Linked DNA regions of Homo sapiens: region 1 is linked to region 2. The links are contacts of gene promoters, found by promoter capture Hi-C in human tissues and cell types (Jung and others, 2019). All regions are on one chromosome and are shown on one strand. The core of a region is centred on a gene start or on the middle of the fragment in contact, and the rest is flanking DNA. Distances in the headings are between cores, read along the strand shown.

What was found. Contacts are between HindIII fragments. The study calls those that stand out against the background at their distance.
Region 1: a contact is called between the fragment with the promoter of SPN here and the fragment with the promoter of SULT1A2 in region 2, in 1 of the 25 tissues and cell types used here (dorsolateral prefrontal cortex).

What each region holds. Positions count from the first base shown.
Region 1 is chr16:29,660,855-29,664,717 of GRCh38, reverse strand. It overlaps SPN (sialophorin), which reads right to left and starts at 1,471. Exons shown (of 2, transcript NM_003123.6): 1 at 1,402-1,471; 2 at 1-1,023. The coding sequence starts at 989. RefSeq lists silencers at 367-486, 1,747-1,806 and enhancers at 1,987-2,066, 2,707-2,756. The HindIII fragment of the contact is 34,536 bases long and covers 1-3,863 here.
Region 2 is chr16:28,595,405-28,599,168 of GRCh38, reverse strand. SULT1A2 (sulfotransferase family 1A member 2) reads left to right here and starts at 2,119. Exons shown (of 8, transcript NM_001054.4): 1 at 2,119-2,172; 2 at 3,235-3,386; 3 at 3,494-3,619; 4 at 3,705-3,764. The coding sequence starts at 3,239. RefSeq lists enhancers at 1-253, 1,887-2,181. The HindIII fragment of the contact is 13,947 bases long and covers 1-3,764 here.

The sequences.
Region 1 (3,863 bases), core at 222-2,721, 1.1 Mb before region 2:
AACCCAGAGCCCTTGTCGCCCCCGGACCCTCCCACGGTCACTGTCACGGCCCCCTCCTCAGGGACCTGGGCTGGCCCAGCCCAGGCGTCCACCACCCCGTTACGCTTGCCGCCTCTGCTCAGCACGAGGGCCCCAGTCCGCCGCTTCTGCCGCCGGCGCCACAGCAGGAGCAGAGCCACGAGGACTATGACCGCCAGCAGGGCCACAAGCACAGCCACTGGCAGCATGCCTCGTGAGTTCTCATCTGGGTTCCGGAAGGGCACAGTGCTTGCGTTGGTGGAGGTCGTTGGAGACATCATTGTAGATAGTTTTACGCTAGAGACCTGGGGTCCACTGGCCCCGCTGGAGGGCTCCAGAGAGCCAGTTGTCATGGTAACAGGGGGTCCAGTGGTCCCAGTGGAGGTCTCCAGAGAGTCAGTTGCCATGGTAACAGGGGGTCCAGAGGTGCCTTTGGAAGTCTCCAGAGAGACAGTTGCCATGGTAAGAGGGGGTCCAGAGGTGCCTCTGGAGGTCTCCAGAGAGCTAGCTGCCGTGGTAACAGGGGCTCCACTGGTCCTACTGGAGGTTTCTGGAGAGTTCGTTGTTATGGTTCCACCTGTCACGGTGTGGGATCCTAGAGAGTTTGCTGTTATGGGAACAGCAGGATGACTGGTTGCATGAGGGGTTTCCTGGGGCACTGATGACATCTTGATGGAAACTTCCTGGTAGGTTGTTGGCTCAGGTAAAGGGGAACCAGTGCTGGCACCAATGGAAGTCCAAAGAGGGGATCCCTCATTGATGGAAGTTGAGGGAGGTAGGGCTGAGGTCTGGTCCCCAGTGCTGTCGGCCTTAGGGTCACTTGTTATTGAAGTGGTGTACATCTTTGAGCTCAGGGGCTCGCTAGTAGAGACCAAAGGCTCTCCGGAGGTGGGTGTCTGCACTGCTGTTGTGCTCCCCAGAGCGTCTGGGCTTACCACCAGCACCCCAAGGAGAAGGAGAAGCGTGGCCATTTCCAGGCAAACAGGCAGGAGCAAGAGCTGGGACCTGCAGGTGGGCAGCCGGAGAAGCAGAACACGCGGGAGTTGCCGGAGGACCTGGCCGGGCCTCCCCTCTGCCCACTTCCCTGCCAACGGCCAGGCCCAACCTGCGGTTTAACGGTTTTTTCCATGCTGGCTTTTACTGTTATCAGAAATGACAGAGGAACAGATGCTGGCAGCTCCCCCATCAGCCCCATCCTGAGGCTCCCTCCAGCCTCAGCAGCTTAGATTCCAGCAGTGACCAGCCCCTCCTGGCCTTCCCTGACCCTGTGCAGCCCAATGGCTCCCAATCTCTTCCCATCATAACCTGTCAGAGTCTTTTCAAGCCACAGGCACATTCCCAGGCCCACTGAGGCCCCTACCCCACCAAGTCTCACCCTCTTACCGGCTCGGCTGATAAGGACGCAGCACTGGGGCCAGGTCACTCCACCACCTCCCGAGGCTGGGGCAAGACTGGGAAGGACAGGGCCCCAAGGGGAAAGGAAGTGGGCCCTGGCTCCACCCACCCCACCCACCCCTCCATCCTGCCCCACCCGCCTGCTCCCACAGCTGCTGGGCGAAGACAGCACCATCACCTGCTCCTTCAGGGGCCAGCGGGGTGCCTGGGGGTCTGGGGCTCACCTGAGGGAGGCAGGGAAGCGTGGGATCTGGAATCAGGATTCCTGGCTCTTGGCTGAGGAATGGGATGGAAGTGGTGATGCTAGGGAGGGCTGGGCTCAGAGGTGGGTGGTGGGAATGTGAGCCTGAGAACTCAAGGGTGCAGAGGAGGAGGTGGGAGGGGAGGGTGGTTTCCTTTGCATTTGTGGTCCCCAAGCTGTTAGGCCAGGAGCTGAGTGGCGCCATTTCCTGCCCTCAGAGCTCCCAGGAAGTAGCAGGGCAAGAGGAAGCCCCCGAGTCTGGCTGGGGGCCGTGAAAACCTTTGCAGGCTGGTGAGCTCTTGACTCTGTCCGGGGAGCTGGGGGTCACCACAGTGGCCCCCAGTCACAGAGACGTGGCTAAACCAAGGTGGTTCCTACACACTGCATATGCTAGGATCTTATTTCTGCAAACTAGTAAAGATGTGGGAATCTTTTTTTTTTTTTTTAAGGCGGAGTTTAGTGCAATGGCATGATCTTGGCTCGGCTCAGCACAATGTCTGCCTCCTAGGTTCAAGCAATTCTCCTGCCTCGGCCTCCTGAGTAGCTGGGATTACAGGCTTGCACCACTGTGCCCGGCTAATTTTGTATTTTTCGTAGAGACGAGGTTTCTCCATGTTGGTCAGGCTGGTCTCGAACTCCTGACCTCAGGTGGTCCATCCGCCTCAGCCTCCCCAAGCGCTAGGATTACAGGTGTGAGCCACCGCGCCTGGCCAGATATGGGAATCTATATGGAAAACCGTCTGGAAAGATATCTACTAAGGGATTCACCTAATTGTCTTTGGATAGGTGAGAGTAGGAGGTGGGGGTATTTTCTTCTTTGAATGGTTCCCATTTCCTGACTTTCCTCTAATTAGCAAGCTTTGACTCTCGGTTTGTGTATGTTTTTGGTTTTTGTTCTTGAAAAACGAAAATCAGTCCCGGGTGTGGTGATACATTATGCTGGCAGTCCAGGCCAAAGTGGGAGGACCTCCTGAGCCCAAGAGTTTGAAACCAGCCTGGGCAACGTAGCAAAACTCCTATCACTAAAAAAATAAATAATTTTTTAAAATCAAAACTGATTTGTATATTTTAAGAGCAACATGTGCACAATAGAAGATTCTAACAGGCCCGTGGGACTGTGCCATTTCTACAAGCTGATGAGTTTGTCTGACCCAAAGACATGAGACTCCTGGGTGAGAGCCACAGGAATTAATTGCTCACACCAAGCAACAGCAGCGTGATGTTTGCATCAGTTCCCCTTACCCCAAGTCCCACGGGGGCAACATGGAAGGGCCCAGACTGACACCATGCACACAGTGGGCCTGCACCGCAGCCATAGAGCTCTGAGCTTGAGAGATTCCCCTCCTCTAGGGGCCCTGGTAAGCCCAGGTTCCCACAGGGAGACGTGTCTTCATCCCTCGGGTGTGCTCACTGCAAACACAGCACTGAAAAATGGCTTGAGTACAAAGTATTCAGAGGCTGAGCGTGGTGGTTCACGCCTGTAATCCCAGGACTTTGGGAGGCTAAGGCAGGCTGATCACTTGAGGTCAGGAGTTCGAGACCAGCCTGGCCAACATGCTCTCTTTTCTGCGCACAGTGGCTCAGAAAGGTAACGGGGTGCCCATTCTGCAGGGGGGATGAGGGACACAGGAGCAAAGGAGTATAGACTAGAGGGCTGCAGAATCAGGCCCTACAGACTTCCTGTCCTACCACCACCATCTTCCAGCTGCATGACCTTGAACAAGCACATAACTTCTCCAATGCCCTAGGACCGCCACCTTCTTCATGAAGTGACTGCAAGAATTAAATGAGATAATGTTAAGTGCACAGAAAAGCAGCTACCAGCACGGGACTCTGGGTTCCTGTCCTACCTCTTGCACTTGGGCAAGTGCCTTAATCTCCTTATCCCTCTGTTGCTTTGTATAAATGGCGATAATTATGGTAATACCACATAGTTTGTTTTGATGATTAAGAGTTAATACATATAAACGGCTGGGCACGGTGGCCCATGCCTGTAAGCCCAGCACTTTGGAAGGCCGAGGCAGGCAGATCACCTGAGGTCAGGAGTTCGAGACCAGCTTGGCCAACATGGTGAAACCCCGTCTCTACTAAAAACACAAAAAATTAGCTGGGCATGGTGGCGGGCGCCTACAATCCCAGCTACTCGGGAGGCTGAGGCACGAGAATCGCTTCAACCCAGGAGGTGGAGGTTGCAGTGAGCAGAGATTGT
Region 2 (3,764 bases), core at 870-3,369:
TTCTGCAGGCACACTGGATAGCCCTGCTGGAGCTCAGTGTCCCTAATCCCCTCCAGATACTGGTGGCCTAGGGGAGGTCATCAAAGACCGGTGGGACATCGACCTCAGCCCGTTTCCACGCTTTTTTTTGTTTTGTTTTGTTTTTTTGAGACCGAGTTTCACTCTTGTTGCCCAGGCTGGAGTGCAATGGCGTGATCTTGGCTCACCGCAACCTCCGCCTCCCGGGTTCAAGCGATTCTCCTGCCTCAGCCTCCCAAGTAGCTGGGATTACAGGCGTGTGCCACCAGGCTTGACTAATTTTCTATTTTTAGTAGAGACAAGGTTTCTCCATGTTGGTCAGGCTGGTCTCAAACTCCCGACTTCAGGTGGTCTGCCTGCCTCGGCCTCCCAAAGTGCTGGGATTACAGGAGTGAGCCACCGTGCCAGGCCTTCTCCAGGCTCTTGGCACCTTAGCCAGAAACAATTTAAGGACAAGTGCAAAAGTCATGAACGTAGGCAGATTTCCTGCAGAGTAAAGGGACTCACTGAAGAAGAGGAACGTGGGGGTCCTCAAGAGAGTGTCTCATGCCCTACAAGGTGTGGGGCTGACCTTTATGGGCTTCTTCAACTAAAGAGGGGTATATTCATGAAGATTCCAGGAAAAGGTAAAGATTTCTCAAGACCGTGGTGCCACAATTTACACCCAAATACAGGTGTTCCTGGAGCCGTCTTGGCACTGGTGGGTGTACGGTTTCATATGTTACTGATTGTACAGTGAGATCCTAGGTGAAACCTACATCAAATACAGCGCCATGTTGCTTCTGGTTGGTCGCAGCCAGCTTGGTCCTCATCCTATTTTTCAGGGACTTATTGGCCCTTGGCACATGCAGCTATTTCAAGTTTCCTTCTTCTGGTCATGTGAAACTGCTGCCTGGGATTTTCTGTTGTCTTGCTAGCACTCTATTAATCTCACATTCTCGCCTCTTTTCTGTGCCACCCCCTGCTGGTCCGGCTGGTTTTCACTAGAGTGCAATACAAAGTCTCAGTCAAGAGGGCCTCCTGAAGGTTGCTGAGGGCAGGGGTGGAGCTAGTAGCCGGAGGACCTGCCAGTCATGGGGATTCCTCAGGGGCACAGAGGAGGGAGGAGGGGCCTGTGGCCCTAGCAGGGGAGCAGCCTCTCCTCTGCCTGGAAATCCCATGCCTCAGTTTTCCCCGCTTGCCTCTGAGCTCACGCAACCCTGGGAAGGCTTGGGAGACTCACCTTTACTCAGATGGTTGTTTACCTGTCTCGTGCCCAGCTTGACCCTGGACTTTAAATAGTGAGGACAAAGAACGAGGAGGGTGGGGGGATGCACTCCTTCCACGGGGCCCTGTGGCTTCCAAGCCTCAACCTCCTCTGGCCTCTGTCTGTGGAGCCTCCTTCAAACCCATGGAAAGAAAAGTACCTGCCAGGGGCTGTGGTTCTTCTAGGATCTTCTATCGATGTTCTGTGAGGTCCCCAGGGAGCCATGAAGCTGGGGCTGGCTCCCAGGGCAATGGGACTGCAGTGTCCTTGTTCTTTCTTGTTCTATGGATCCATGCTCTGCTCCACCCCTGCCCCTTCACTCTGCCCACACGCATCACTCCAGACTGGCCTTGTGGTCAGAGCCTGGAGTGCATGGGCTGCTGGAGGCCTGTGGGTTGCACTGGGCCAGGACCCCTGGCACCTTCAAGACTGGCCTGGAGCCAGCAGGTAGGTGACCTTTCCAGGGCCTGCCTATCCCATCTTTCTCCTCCAATCCCTCCCCTCTCTTGCCTGGGTCAATTAGAGAAAGCTTGTCTTTTGGAGTTCAGGGGCAGGTCAGGAGCCCAGTGACAGCTCAAAAAAAAAAACCCACAAAAACAAACCCACCATTGGGCCCTTTCCCCTTTCATTCTTCTGTTTTCTACACACCAAACCCAGTCGTGGCTTTGGAGATCACTTTAAGCTTGTCTCCAGCTGGCAAACTAAGGAGGGTAATAGAGAAGCTCCCCCACCCCCAACCCTACCCCTTCCTTCCGGAAGCAAATCTAAGTCCAGCCCCGGCTCCAGATCCCTCCCACACTGACCTAAGAAACCCTCAGCACAGACAACACCCCTGCATTCCCCACACAACACCCACACTCAGCCACTGCGGGCGAGGAGGGCACAAGGCCAGGTTCCCAAGAGCTCAGGTGAGTGACACACCGGAATGGCCCAGGACGCCCTCACCCTGCTCAGCTTGTGGCTCCAACATTCCAGAAGCCGAGGCCTCTGCTATCCCTGCCCTCTCCCCATGGATATCCCATTTCAGACAACCCCGGCCGGCCTGAATCCCCCTCCCTTCCTTTTTTTTTTTTCCGGGGAGGCCAGGTCTTGCTGTCACCGAGGCTGGAGTGCTGTGGGATCCTGGCCACTGCAGCCTTGAATTCCTGGGCTCAAGTGATTCTCCTGCCTCAGTAGCTAGGACTACAGACCCTCACCATCCTGCCTGGATAGTTTTAAAAAATATTTTTAAAAGATTTTTAGAGATGGGGTCTTCCAATGCTGCCCAGATTGGTCTCCAAATTCTGGCCTCAGCCTCCCTAGGGTCTGGGATTACAGGTGGGAGCCACCCTGCCCAGGATCCTCCTTTTGCTGAGTCATCACAGTTTTGCTCATTCCCACATCAGGCTCTGGCCCCCAATACCAGCTCAGTTGCTCAATGGGCTGTTTGTCCTGGAGCCCAGATGGACTGTGGCCGGGCAAGTGGATCACAGGCCTGGCCAGCCTAGGAGTTGCCACATGTGAGGGGCCGAGGGGCTCAAGGAGGGGAACATCGGGGAGAGGAGCCTACTGGGTGGAGGCTGGGGGTCCCAGCAGGAAATGGTGAGACAAAGGGCGCTGGCTGGCAGGAAGACAGCACAGGAAGGTCCTAGAGGTTCCTCAGTGCAGCTGGACTCTCCTGGAGACCTTCACACACCCTGACATCTGGGCCCCGCGCCACGAGGGTGCTTTCACTGGTCTGCACCATGGCCCAGGCCCTGGGATTTTGAACAGCTCCGCAGGTGAATGAAAGGTGAGGCCAGGCTGGGGAACCACCACATTAGAGCCCGACCTGGTTTTCAGCCCCAGCCCCGCCACTGACTGGCCTTGTGAGTGCGGGCAAGTCACTCAGCCTCCCTAGGCCTCAGTGACTTCCCTGAAAGCAAGAATTCCACTTTCTTGCTGTTGTGATGGTGGTAAGGGAACGGGCCTGGCTCTGGCCCCTGACGCAGGAACATGGAGCTGATCCAGGACATCTCTCGCCCGCCACTGGAGTACGTGAAGGGGGTCCCGCTCATCAAGTACTTTGCAGAGGCACTGGGGCCCCTGCAGAGCTTCCAGGCCCGGCCTGATGACCTGCTCATCAGCACCTACCCCAAGTCCGGTAGGTGAGGAGGGCCACCCACCCTCTCCCAGGTGGCAGTCCCCACCTTGGCCAGCGAGGTCATGCTCACCTCAGCCTGCTCACCTCCCATCTCCCTCCCTCTCCAGGCACCACCTGGGTGAGCCAGATTCTGGACATGATCTACCAGGGCGGTGACCTGGAAAAGTGTCACCGAGCTCCCATCTTCATGCGGGTGCCCTTCCTTGAGTTCAAAGTCCCAGGGATTCCCTCAGGTGTGTGTGTCCTGGGTGCAAGGGGAGTGGAGGAAGACAGGGCTGGGGCTTCAGCTCACCAGACCTTCCCTGACCCACTGCTCAGGGATGGAGACTCTGAAAAACACACCAGCCCCACGACTCCTGAAGACACACCTGCCCCTGG